Linked DNA regions of Homo sapiens: region 2 is linked to region 1. Evidence: promoter capture Hi-C in human tissues and cell types (Jung and others, 2019). All regions are on one chromosome and are shown on one strand. Each heading gives the region's core, a stretch centred on a gene start or on the middle of the fragment in contact. The rest is flanking DNA. Distances are from core to core; before and after follow the strand shown.

Region 1 (6,797 bases), core at 1,712-4,211:
GGCTCAGTAAGCAGAGGCCACGCAAGCCCTAAGGTCAGATTTGAGTAGGAGCCAGTGTGGCCAGGTGGGCAGGGGCCCTGGTTGAGGTGACCAGAAATCCCATCAGCACCACTGGGTCTCTTAGAAGATACTCAAGTTCCCAAAACAACTGGGGGTTAGAGGCAGGGGATTAGTCAGACCTCACCTTGGACAGCAGCCCCAGCCCTGTCTCAGCCCCAGGGACACCAGGGCATGGGGCTGTCACAAGGAAGCTGGCTGAAGGCCAGGTGCCTGTGCCTTGACTGAGGGACACGGCTCAGGTCAGTTTGCTCCATGACTCCTGGGACCCTACAGACCCCACTCCGTGTTCTCCTGCAGCCCAGTGCACAGCACGCTGCTCTGCTGTGCCAGGTTGTGTTGTGTTGAGTTGTGCTGTGTCATGTGCTGTGTCACTGTTCCTGCAGACTCCCTGTCCGGGAGCTCTAGGGCCCTGACCTCTAAGAAGCCCCAGCCCCGAGCCAGCCTCAGGCAAGGTCTGCATCCCTGCTGCCTCCGCTTCCCTGGCTCAGCCTTGAAGCTCCCGCTGACCCCTCTGCCACTCACCAACCACCCATCACCCCCTACTTAGAGGCCAGGAAGCAGCAGGGGTCGTTTCCCCCTTCTCTTCACCCTTTCTCTCTTCCCTCCATTCTCCAGGACATACAACTCCAACAGAAACCAGAAATCCTGCAAATGCCCTGACCCACCCACCAACCCCAGGGCACCTCCTGCCCAGGTATTTGGCACAGGGGATGCCCTCACACCGACCCCATCATGTGCCCTCGTGGCCCCGAGGCTGTAGCATGGGATGCCTGTCTGGCCCTGGACCTGCCCTGGGCCCTGCCCTCTGCCACCGCTCACAGGACAAACCCAAACAATTGCTGTCCTCCCTCTGAAATGGTGGTCATGGGGGTGCAGGGAAGGCCTCACGTCCCTCCTGTGCCCAGGCCCCTCACCCCAACACTCTGGCTGGCTGCATCTGCTGCCCAGAGCCCTTGGTCACCAGGCGTGCAGCCTGGACCACGCTGATGGCAAGGGAGGCCCTTCCTAAGCCTAGAGGTGGTCTAAACCTTCATGGAACTGCTGGTCACAGTGCCAGCCAGAGTCCCAGGTGACGCTGAGATAGCTCAAAGTGGTGCATGGGAGATGTCTGATATCAACCCTCTCCTGGAGGTAGATGATGTCTCCAGCCTGGTGACTTCCCTGGCCTCCAGCCACCACCACCCCCAGTGTCCCCAAGGCTGAAGGTGCAAGCTTGCCCTGGCCCTGGTCCTGGCATAGAAAGTGCACGATCTGGTCATGTCATGCAGGTGAGGATACTTGTGTGCCAGGTAACCTCAGGCAGGCATGGTGGCGCTTGTGGGGCAATCCTGTAACCTGCAGTGTGGTGGGTGGGATGGGTGTGTGTGACACAGGCAGGAACTACTCCTGATGGCAGCTGACGACCCACATGTGTACTGGGTGGGTGCCAATGGGAGTAGCAGGTGAGTGGCTGAGCACAGGCAGGTGAATGAGTGACAGCTACACAAACCCCACCACTGAGCACGTCCCTCCCAGGGCAAAGCAGATCAGATCACAGGCCCAGCCCTGGGAGGCCCAGAGGAGCCTCAGGTCCTCAGGAAGGCTCCTGGCCCTCTTCGCCCTAGGAGGACCCCCCCCCCGCCCCAAGCCGGCTCCACCTGTAGCTGTGGGCGTGGGAGGGAGACAGAGCGCTCTGGCGGCCAGAGAAGGAAGGAAGATGGAGGGAGGGCGGACTTCTGCTCCCTGACGCTGCTGCTAGGCCCCCTGCGGCCCTCCTGGAGCCCACACCTTTCAGCTGCAGTCTCCCAGCCTTCGTCCCCAGGACGAAGCCCACTAAGCCAGTGCTTTTCCACTGCAGCTGGCTGTTCCGCTTGGGGAGGGTTCCCAGATTGTGCAAAGTGAGGAAGGGTCCCCTGTCCCTGCCCCGCAGGGCCCCCACTCCAGGCCTCCCCCATCTCTCCCTGTCTCTCTCAGAGGTAGAGGCAGCATTAAATTAAAATTTAATTAAAATATTAAAAATAAAGTAAAAAATTCAAATATACAACAGTAGACTGTCTGGCTTGCATACAAAGAAGGCCATTGCCCCTTTGGGTGAGCCGGGCAAGGTCAGGGTCTAAGAAGCGCCTCTGGTGAGAAGCGGTTGTCAGGCTCTGATGGCTGCGGGAGGAGTGACTCCTCCCAGGATGAGGGTCTGTGTCCTCTCAGTGCTCACTCAAGTTCCGTATTTCCAAGTCCTTCCAGGGGGCGTAACGCACGTGAGAACTGCCATTTCTGTCACAGATACGTGGCCGCATGCATTTCCAGGAAATGTCCTTGGTTCGCGAACTACAGCTGGCACAATCCAGCCCAGGGCGTTCTGTGAGCTGTAGTCTCCAGCAAGTGAATTCCAAAAAAACCTCAAAGACCTCAAAGACCATACAGGGTGGACAGCGTAGTAGCAGGGTTTGGGAAGAGAGGAGCTCTTTTGCTAGCAAAGGCGAGAGCTCGCCTGGTACAAGGTCTGCCCACGTCCCGGGAGATAAACATTAGTGTGAGCGCACGCTAGACCCAGAAGAGTTTGCCACGGCCGCACGGTTTTCTGGGAAGTGTAGTTTCTTGGTCCCGGCGCCATTGTCCTTAAAAGTAGAGGGTGGCCCTTGGTTCCGAGGTGTATCTTTCACCTCATCAGTATGACTATATGCCCCAGGACACTTCCCGCATGGTCCTAACTGCCGGGCTCTGGGACGACAGCCCCAGGCGGTTTAGTTTTTTAGGAAACCGAGATCTGTTTGCCCGCGGCGCCCCAGGTCCGCGCGGCCGCAGAGACTCCTGGGAAGTGTGGTCTTCCGGTACCTGCGGTTCGTTGCGCCTGGAATTTTGTCCCCTGCGCGGATGATTCTGGGAAATGTCGATCGGCTGTGGGCGGCGCACTGGGTCCGCCCCGCTGTAGCCTCAGGCCTGACGGCGACTCCCAGGCTCCGGGACGATTCTGGGCAGTGTCGTCCCCAGAGGTCGGCGGCCGTTGCCCGCTCACCAGCGACGCGGGGCGCCTGCGGGGACGGTGAGGCCCTGCTGAGGACTCCGGCCAGTATGAGTCCCGGGGGCGGCGGCGGGGCTCAGGCCCTGGGTCTGCCCCGCGGTGTGACCCCGGCCGGTGCCTTGGTTTTCCTGGCCTTCATGTCCTCCTATGTAAACGCGGGGTGATGACGGCGCCGACCTCTTGGCGCTGTTGTGAGAGTGAAGTGGGCGCGTGGTTAGACGCCAGCCACAGTTGTCTTTGGGTTATGTCGTCATGAAGCCGGCGCTCTACAGTTGTGTAACCTTGAACAAATGGGTTCAGTATCTTGGAATTTCAGTTTTGTCATCGTTTAAAAAATAGATCTGGAAAAATGTGAACGCACACCGTGCATAGTGGTGAAGACTGAACGAGCTGATAAAGTTTTTACCATTGTTTTATGAGGATTTTATTTACAGAGTAATTGATTTTCCTCGCAGGTGGCACCTGGTAAATGGTTAGCCCTTGCGGAGAAACACCCTGTTAGTTCCCAGGGAGAGATTGGCGCCCTGGAGAGTGATTACCAGTGTGCCTTTCCATTATGGTGTGTCACAGGTGCCGCAAGATAAGCCTGATTTTTCATGACTGCTTTTTCCTGCCCTTCTGTGCCCTCAGGACACTGCCCATCTCTAAGATAAGAGCCTGGAAAGAGGACTCTGTTGGCTGTTGGAAATTGCAGAGTAATGCCTCAGGTAGGTCGGTGTGTCCGCAAATCTTCCTGAAACACTTTATCAGGACTGTGTGTTTGCTTTGCTTCTCCTGCCTGTTCCCACCTAACCAAGTCCATTTAAGGGACTGGATCCATGGTTCCTTTCAGTATAGGAAGGACGGAGCCCACAGGAGAGCTCCAAGGTATTATCCTCCTCACCCAGTGTTCCTCTTTTCTACAGTTTTCTGCTAGAAGACTTTCTAGTCTTGCCAACATTTTAAAACTGTAATTCACAATGCAACTTTGGAATGTAAGGTTATTCGGTTTATGGTTGTCAAAACTGTACCATGTGGTCTCAAGTGAAGAGATGCTTGCAGTCATCCTTGATTCTTCCCTTTGACTTATACCTATATTCAGATCCTCTAGTTGGAGCTAAGCTATACACTGTATACAGAATCTGACCATTAGTTACCCCAGCACTACCACCACCACTACCACCCCGGTAGTGATAGCAATAAAGCCACCTGGATTATTGCGGTAGCCTCCTAGCTGGATTCCCTGCATCTGCCCTTAACCCTCATCAGTCTGTTCTCAGTACAGCTGTGACCGTGGTCCTATTGTTACATAAATTCCTGTCATTCCTCAACCTATAATTTTTCAGTGGCTCTAACTGAGTCACTTCTGCAATGACCTATTTGTACAATTAGGCCATTACCTTTCTGATCCCACCTTCCTTCTCTGCCTCCTCATTCCTGTGAGCTCTAGCCACTGTCACTAGTTGCTGTGCCATCGACGTGGAATATTCTTCCCCCACATACGCACAAACTTGCATCCTTATCTTCTTCGTGTGTTTGTTCCGTGGTTACTTTCTCAGAAAAGCTTCCCTGAATGGCTATTTGCAATCGCAGTCACCTTCCCTCGCCTAGCACTTCCACTCCTCCATCACTGCTTTGTTGTTTTCCACAGTGTGTGTCACTCACTAGCTGATGTACTGTATGTTCAGTATATGCACATGCTCATTGTCTGTTCCTGGTGGGAGGAATCTTTTTTCTTTTTTGTTGTCTGTTATAGCTTCAGTACCCAGAGGGTTACCTGGCACCAAATAGATGCTTAGTAAGTAATTGTGGAGTGAATAAGATGAGTAATGACGAACTGGTGGGGCAGAATCATGGCATGGAAGGTGAAGCTTGCATAGGAGGGGATGTGAGTAGCAGATGTACATGTTGGGTGAAGTCTGTTTTCTTGGAGAAGTTAGATAATTAGAATTGAAAAACTGGTGTGGTGGTACATGCCTGTTTTTCCAGCTATTCGGGAGGGTGATGAGTTGAGAAAATTTCTTGAACCCTGTGGTGTGCGGCTGCAGTGAGCTATGATTATGTCACTGCACTCCAGCCTGGCGGCAGAGCAAGAAAAAAGTAACAGCTAAAGTGAACTAATGCCAAAATCATTCATTGGTTCATCTTCTAAACACTTAGGAAGTATCTGTTAGGAAAAGTTGTACATGGATTTTGGTGTACACTGACACACAGGACTTCATGATCTAGTGCAGTATTGTCTAAGAGAACTTTCTGCAGTGGTGGAAGTGCTCTGCATGTGTACTGGTCAGTACAGTAGCCACCAGCCCTGTATGACTATTGAGTACTTGAACTGTGGCTTAAGCAACTGAGAAACTGAATTTTAAACTTTACTTATTTTATTTTTACATTTTAATTAATTTAAATGTATGTAGCCAAATTGCCTAGTGGCTACTGTATTGAGGATTGCAGCACTGGTAGAAAAGTAAGAAAGCATAAGAAATTAAAATAAATGCCAGGACAGATAGGCTATGTTCTTTTGGGGACAGAGATGAGTGAACACCCCAGGCTGCCCAGACAACTGAAGGGGAAGAAGGAAGCATCCCTGGCTCTAACTTGTAATAACCTGTTCATCATAAAGCTATGAGAAATGTTTTTTTGATTTGGGATAAAGGGAATTAACTAACACAGTGGCAACTCCAATTAACAGGTGAATTTAGGATAAATTATGTGTAGCAAATTGAACTGTAAGGTCTTACTTGATTATTTGGAAAATGTATGTATTGGATTGTATCTGCTTGGCTATAAAAAAGAGATTTCTTCCTGTCCTTTTAATCTCATTAGTGGATTGCCTGTGAAGTGCATCACAGTTGATTTAGTGATTATTAAGTAATAAAACTGTGTTCTTTTTTTCTACATTTGTGGAGAGGATTTTCTGCCATTGGCAGGAGATTTGAATTTTAATTATTTTCCCAACACCTGGCAAAAATAAATTCTGCCTTTAAAACCAAAGACGAGTATCACTGGTGAACATGCATGCAAAATATCCAAATAATGTAATACAATGCTGAATTAACTCTCAGAGCTAAAAAATTACCACAGGCAAGCAGTCTGTTTCACAAATCAAAGACAGTAATAATGCTGTATTAAATAGATGTATTTTTTGTACATATTATAATTTGACTAGCCAATAAACTATTATTGAATATTTAAGCTTCCAAAGTTTTACTAAAAAGTAATATTGTGAAATGAGTACTATTGAAAGGAATTTCTAAGCCACATCTGTGAACATTTCCTTATTTTCTTTGAAACGTACCCCTTTATTTTTTTCCCTTTACTTTCAGGTCTTATTTAAGGACTATCTAAGGCAGTGGTGCCCAACCTTTTTGGCACCAGGGATCGGTTTTGTGGAAGACAGTTTTTCCACAGAAGCAGGAGGTGGTGGTTTGGGGGTGAAACTGTTTCACCTCAGATCATCAGGCATTAGTTCAATTCACATAAGGGGCGTGCAACCTTAATCCCTTGCATGCGCACTTCACAGTAGGGATTGCGCTCCTATGAGAGTCTAATGCCATAGCTGATCTGACAGGAGGCAGGGCTCAGGTGATAAAAGTCATTTGCCTGCCACTCATCTCCTGCTCTGTGGCCTGATTTCTAACAGGCCACAGACTGGTACCAGTGGTTATGTACCCCTAACCATCAGGGGATTAGGGACCCCTGATCTATGGCATGAAACCATCCTTCAGTCTTTTCACCCAGGGGTCTCATATTTTAATAATTG
Region 2 (7,333 bases), core at 1,213-3,712, 110 kb before region 1:
AATCTTAGCCAACTTTCTCATACCCGCAGACTTTCCTTCACAAGATTAATGCTTCACAAATTCTTCACAACTTGCTTGAACCTTTAGTTTTTTTCCCCCATTACTCTTTTAGGTTAGGACAATCCTTAAAAACTGCTGAACTAGACAAAATTACATCTTTTTAACAAAAGTCATACTCCCATACCTTTTATCACCTTTTACCAAAATCACACTTTACCTTCCTTACACACCCTGCATGTGAAACTCTTTCTTCAGTAGTTTCAAGCACATGTTATAATATTAACTTTTAGCAACTCTTATTTTTGGTGGAAAAGATGGTAAACAAGCAATTTTAACCATGTATCAGATTGCAGATCTCAGGATGAGGATAGAGCTGCAGATAGTGTCCAACTCTCCCAAACTTAGCCAGGGGACCTGGCCTAAGCCTTACCTAAAATCTAATGGCTATAAAACAGACAAGTCAAACAATTATTTAAAGTCATAGAAGCAGTTTATGGCCTTAAAACACATGGCAAACAGGTTCAGCCTGCCTACTTTAGACCAAATGTCTAAATTTTGAATATATTTATTTTATTTTACCAATAATCTTTTACATTGTCTTTTTTAAAGAAATTAGAGTCCCATGACCTAAATCCATTAAAGTTTCTATTTTTTTCTGACAATATGTTTAAGTGCTTATATTTAGGACAATTAATTACAGCTCTTTTACACCACACACGTAACACACATAATACACAGACAAAAACGGAGATCCAAGACAGAATTTCATCAATAAAGAAATCTTTAGAGGGAGAGTGGGGGCTTTAAAACAATATTCACGCATATATAGGCCAAATATCAGCTTTAATTAAGTCAACTTTTAAGTATAGAGATCTTAAGATTCTTTAAAAATCTTTTATTACCAGCTTTTAGCCAAGACAAAGGGCCAATATTTCTGGCTTTTGAATTTTTTTTACTAAAGGCAACCTTCTACATGAAATCAGTAAGTCTTAACTAAGAGGATGGTAACCTTGGATGCATGAAGTGTCTCCAAAGAGATGGCAAGCGATGGGCAAAGAGACGGCAAGCAATTTTTATGAGATGTAGAATCTCCCCAAAGGTAGTTCAGGAAAAAGAAAATTTCAAGACACGAAATCAGAAGCTGTCCACAAAGAGGAAAGGAAGCAATAAATGGCAAAAAGTCAAACACACATAAAATCAGAAAAGACTGATTCCCTAAGCCAGGAATTGAACCCAGGCCACCAGCATGAAAAGACAAAAACCTTAACTACTGAGCACAAGGTGACTGAAATTGCTTTTCCTGAAAGGAATCTTGAGCAGTTATTTTTGAAGTTGCAAAGGATTTTAACTATTCAAGAGAATTAAGGTGAGAATTAACATAATAATGTCCCTTTTTTAGACCCAAGAATCAAAGCTTTGTAACTCAACTGCACAGGGCTTTAAAGGCAATACAGAAAGTTACTTGGATGAATAACCTTTTCAAGTGCACAACTGGAATTAACTTTTAGATAACTTTTGAATTAGATAAAATTATTCTTTTTTAAAAAAAAATAGAACACATTTTCCTTGGCACATTTTATGTAAACCCAGGAAGCAAGAAATCCTAAATTGCCTATCAGATACTAGCATTTTATAGATGAGCACCATTCTACAATTTTGGAACGTGTTCTCAATATAATAATCTTTTCTTAATTGGAAATGACCCAGGTATATACCCAAAGAATTATAAATCACTTTACTATAAAGACACATGTACACATATGTTTATTGTGGCACTATTCACAATAGCAAAGACTTGGAACCAACCCAAATGTCCATCAATGATAGACTAGATTAAGAAAATGTGGCACATATACACCATGGAATATTATGCAGCCATAAAAAAGGATGAGTTCATGTCCTTTGTAGGGACATGGATGAAGCTGGAAACCATCATTCTGAGCAAACTATTGCAAGGACAGAAAACCAAACACTGCATGTTCTCACTCATAGGTGGGAATTGAACAATGAGAACACTTGGACATAGGGTGGGGTACATCACACACCAGGGTGGGGGGAGGGGGGAGGGATTGCATTAGGAGATATACCTAATGTAAATGACAAGTTAATGGGTGCAGCACACCAACATGGAACATGTATACATATGTAACAAACCTGCACGTTGTGCACATGTACCCTAGAACTTAAAGTATATATTTTAAAAAGTCAGATGAATTTTCTGCCTAGGAAAAAGCATTTAAATTATAATTCATAGTTCCAATGAGTTGGCAGTGAAATTGGGGCCATGAGATGTTCCAGCAGCGATGGAGATGGGGCAAATCTTATAGTATTAACATCACACCATTTGGCAATAATGTCAAAAGTTACAAAAATACTTGAAATCAGTAATTATGAGAATGTATACTGGGAAAACTTTCAAAATAAATTCAATCTATATGCAAAAAAAGAGAATGTTCCAATACTTGAAATCAGTAATTATGTTTATGAGAATGTATACTGGGAAAACTTTCAAAATAAATTCAAGCTATATGCAAAAAAAAGAGAATGTTCCTATTCCTTATTTATAATCCTTAAATAGTGTTCCTATTCCTGAAAGATTAAAGTCGCATGAAGTAAAAGGCATTACAGCTTTTATTTTTCCTTCAAAAAATATTTTATCTAAGTGCTTATTTTTAAAGCCAGTTAATTATAACTTTTTTTGTATAACCATTACACACATAACATATATATGACTACACAGACAGAAGAAAACCCAGCAGTTGTAAGGTTTTTTTGTTCGTCAATTTTCTAATTGGATTATTGGCCTCAGGGTGGAGCTCTTTAAGAACAGGGCTAGGAAAGCATACAGTTTCTAGGGCCTAATAAACAGGCATACCTGAAAGGCAAAAAGAGATTTTGAGTGGGTTATATTCACCTCTAATTCTTGGGGTTTCATGAGGAAAAGAGAGATGTCTCACAAAATGGAATCCTTGGCATTTTTTTTTTTTCCCCAAGGAGTCCCAGGCCATCAGAAGCTATCTAGGGCCTTTCATACATGCACTGACTGGCAAGACAAAGTGGAGAAAAGTAATTTAGTCAACTGAGAAAAAAAAAAACCTTTTCAGAAAAACAAGATCCAAGGAGAGAAAAACATAAAAATCTTTTAAATATATCTATAACTTGGATATCCTCTTTTAATTAAGCTGAGCATTCTTTAAGAATATCCTTTTTCATTAATTAAAACTTTACAGGGAATATAAACAATGATTCTTATCATTCCTTTCACTGGTTTGCACAGGGACAGAGAGGCCAAAAGTCTGACTGTAAAAAAACTTTTATCCTTTTACCAGCATGTCTGGCTTCTGGGTTTTCTAGGGGAGTTTCTTTGAGGTCCTCCTTGGCTGCATAGGTTTGCATGACTGTTCAAAGCCATATTCAGGTTCTTCAGTTTCCTCTGGGAGGAAAGTGTCTGGGTTCAGGCAAGGACAGGTTTTTTTAACTGGACTGTAGATTCCTCTAACAGCAGAGCCTGATCTTTGAGGAGGTGATTATCTGTTGGCCAGGGACTTCTCTTAGAAGACAGCAGTTCTGCCGCATTATGTGGGTTATATACAGTTAAGTCATTCCTCATGGTTAACTTGGTGGCCACTGACACCAGTAAAGCCACTGCTGTAACTGCTCAGAGGCAAGCTGGCCGTACTTTAGCCATCAACTCAAGCTCCTTGCTTAGGTAACCTACTGGCTGTTGAGCTGGACCTTGAGCCTGAGTTAAAACTCCCAGGGCCATTCTCTTCCTTTTTGCTACATAGAGACTGAATGTCTTTCCTATGGGAAGACTAAGGGCTGGTGCTTTAAGCAAGGCTTGTTTTAACTGGTTAAAGCCTTTTTGAGCCCCAGGTTCCCAAGTCAGGGACTGAGTTTTAGCTGCTTGCATTTCTTTTATGAGGTGGTATAAAGGGCGAGTTATCTCACTGTACCTGGGTATTCCTAGTTTGCAAAATTCAATAATGCCTAAGAATCCCTTCAGATGTTTAAGCATTTTGGGAAGGGCAAAGAGGAAATGGGCTTAATCATTTCCTTACCTAGTGCTCTTGTTCCTTCTGACAGGACTAGATATAGGTACTTTACTGAAGTTTGAAAGAGCTGAGCCTTAAATTTTGAAACCCTATATCCCCTTTCAGCTAAAAAATTGAGGAGAGCCTCAGTGTCTTCCTGAGACTTTCTCAGTTGGGGCACAGAGGAGAATGTCATCTACATACTGCAAAGCTTCAACCTGAGGGTGAGAAAAATCAGAGAGATCTTTGGACACGGCCTGTTTTTGCAACTTCCTTCAGATATTAGGGGCTGCCTGAGTAATAAACTTGTCCTTTAAGATTAGCTGTCCTTCAATTGAAATGAGAGATAGAAAGGTGTGTTTCACTAAAGCTTCTCTCAGCCTTTCCAAAAAGGCTGAGGGGTTTTCATCTAGGTTTTTTTTTTTTTTTATTATCTATTATGGAAAGCTTGTAGTAGTTAATAGGTTTGGCTATAGTCCTTTGTGGCTTCTCCAATATACGCATTTGAAAGAGTTTTCTTCTCCACTCACCAATGCTATTATTATGGTCACATTTAGGGTCCTTTAAGGGCACTATTACTCTCCCAATTGGATAAGGCTCTTCCCCTTCCCTGGCACTGTATGAGACACAAAGTTCATCTCCAAATTTCTTTGCTGCCTACAGGGCCAACTGTTTCTCAGCAGCAGTTAGGGTTTGATTTAAGAGTAACCTAACATCCTTCCAGCAGAGTTTAAATACTCTATATGTGAGTGAAGTTGGGACTTTCCTAAAGCAAACTTCAGGGTCTGACGATTAAAAGAGATCCAGGCTGCACTCGAGGAAAGTGCAGGCTTGAAGATGGGTTGTTAAGTATCTGGAAAGAGAGGGGAGAAAAGGCATACCTTAGTCCACTTCCTCCTTTTGGAGTGACCCAGGGTACAGAGAAAGGTAGAAAGGGCGTCCTCCTTCTCCTCTTTCCTCCCATCTCCTCTGGGTCCTGGTGGCCATCAATTGTGCTGCCCATGGATGCAAGCATTACCACCCATGGATCCAGAGGAGCTAGTCAGCAGGAGTAGTCATGTTTACCTGTGAGATTCCCTAGCTCTCTACCTATCTCTGGGTATCCCAGACCTACTCGACCTAAAAGGCTCCCATGGTACCCCAGGGGCCCAGGAGGGATTGTGCAGTAGTTGGATTTGAGTAAGACCATTTAATGGAAGGAGTGTCTTGACTCTGTCCCTGGCTTCTCTTACTGTGGCCCTAGCAAAGCCCTGATTTCCCAGAGAATGGGACCAATTGACTTCTAAGCATAAAATCCTCTTTTGTTTAAATGCCAATGTAGTTGTGTTTAGGACAGGTGCCTCAAAAAATATAAGGATTAAATGGCTGTCCTACCTTCGATGAGGACAGTACTGAGCCTAGAATTTGTCTCTCAAGGGCAGCTTCCTCCTGACTATTGAAAGTGGAGTTTTCCTGCCTACAAATAGGGCATGAGGTCTGATCACTTATAGAGGGATGCAGGAGGAAAAAGAGTTGGGGAACTAGAGGTTTTGGGAAAAGGGTCAATATGGCCCCCCAACACAGAAAAATCCTATTTTGCTAGGTGTTGTGGCAATAACTGAAATGTTAGGTAAAAACTGTGACTCCAAATTCTTTCTAGGCAGAGAGGTGTGGGGCTTGGTGGGCTGTCCCCACAATATGCCTCCCAGCAAAAATACAATTTGTCTCATGGAGGAACTGTTTAAATTCACTGGCAGTGCTGAGCTTTTATGTGGAGGAATAAAACAACCCAAATGGAGAGGAGGGTATTCACTCAGGTTGAAATATCCTCCTATAGAGTGCCATGAATGACTATCATTGGGGAACAAAAAAGCCCTTACTAGGTGAAAGTTTAGTTCAGTTTAGTTTAGTTTAGTTGAAAGTTTAGTTGAAATCTTGAAATCCCCCCATCTCAAGGAAATCACAGAAGCAGCAATTCTTAGAGTTACATTCCTGGTTACTAAGGCACTTGCTAACTTTACCCAACAAGGTTATCTCCCCAGGCTGTAAAAACTCCCTCAACATAGCATACAAAGAAGGGATAGGAGACATGAGAGCTGCAAAAAAGAAAAGAAAGGAAGAAAATGTGATAGGAAAGTCTGGAAGTCCTGGTGGGCTGTTGGGGACTGGAGTTAGTCCAGGAGTCTTCAGGTAACACCAAGGTGCAGCCTCCGCCAGATGCCTTCAGTTGCCCCAGGACCTTCTTCCAGCCCCACATGATGGCTAGATCTTCTGTGAAAGGGAGCTAGGTTGGAACAGAGCCAACATTCCCAACACCCAAGAGTGATGGGGGATTGATAAAGTCCTCTCCATCAAGCCTGTCCCCTGAATCTTGTAAGGCTGGCAGCCACTCTAGAAGCTTTTAATAGGCTGACAGGGGCCCAGTGTTTTGTTTGATCTTACAAGAAAAAAACAGAGGATAAGGAGCCTTGGAAATGAAAGTACAGTGTTGGAGGTCCTCTCCTACTCATCTTTCTGATGTTTCCTTTCCTGGCCAATGCACCAGTGTTGCATTCTTGTTATCTGAGGTATTACTCAGAGTATTATCTGCTTATTCTACTGAGTAACATTTCTGCAGTTTGCAGCAAAACCCTTAATATTATAAAAGAAGTGAGGTGGAGCCAAGATGGCCGAATAAGAACAGTTACAGTCTACAGCTCCCAGCGTGAGTGATGCAGAAGACGGCTGATTTCTGCATTTCCAACTGAGGTACCGGGTTCATCTCACTGTGGAGTGTTGGATAGTGGGTGCAGGACAGTGGGTGCAGCGCACCGAGTGTGAGACGAAGCAGGGCGAGGCATCATCTCATCCGGGAAGCACAAGGGGTCAGGGAATTCCCTTTCCTAGTCAAAGAAAGGGGTGACAGACGGCACATGGAAAATCGGGTCACTCCCACCCTAATACTGCACTTTTCCAATGGTCTTAGCAAACTGCACACCAGGAGATTATATCCCATGCATGGCTCGGAGGGTCCTACAACCACGGAGCCTCGCTCATTGCTAGCACAGCAGTCTGAGATCAAACTGCAAGGCAGCAATGAGGCTGGGGGAGGGGCGCCTGCCATTGCCAAGGCTTGAGTAGGTAAACAAAGCAGCCAGGAAGCTCGAACTGGGTGGAGCCCAACACAGCTCAAGGAGGCCTGCTTGCCTATGTAGACTCCACCTCTAGGGGCAGGGCATATCCAAACAAAAGGCAGCAGAAACCTCTGCAGACTTAAATGTCCCTGTCTGACAGCTTTGAAGAGAGTAGTGGTTCTCCCAGCACACAGCTTGAGATCTGAG

The links. The method cuts DNA at HindIII sites, captures the fragments that hold promoters and counts their contacts. A contact is called where the count stands out against the background at its distance.
Region 2: a contact is called between a fragment that was not itself captured here and the fragment with the promoter of ZNF181 in region 1, in 2 of the 25 tissues and cell types used here (mesendoderm cells and thymus).

Annotation. Positions count from the first base shown.
Region 1 is chr19:34,731,282-34,738,078 of GRCh38, forward strand. ZNF181 (zinc finger protein 181) reads left to right here and starts at 2,962. Exons shown (of 4, transcript NM_001029997.4): 1 at 2,962-3,765. The coding sequence starts at 3,757. RefSeq lists silencers at 79-289, 2,995-3,044, 3,145-3,204 and enhancers at 1,810-1,869, 2,087-2,604, 2,325-2,714. The HindIII fragment of the contact is 5,149 bases long and covers 1-4,754 here.
Region 2 is chr19:34,618,471-34,625,803 of GRCh38, forward strand. All of the region lies in intron 1 of SCGB2B2 (secretoglobin family 2B member 2), which reads right to left. It also overlaps the pseudogene ZNF807P and the pseudogene SCGB1B2P. Among named protein-coding and RNA genes, the nearest start is that of SCGB2B2, 55 kb to the right of the region's middle. The HindIII fragment of the contact is 3,723 bases long and covers 602-4,324 here.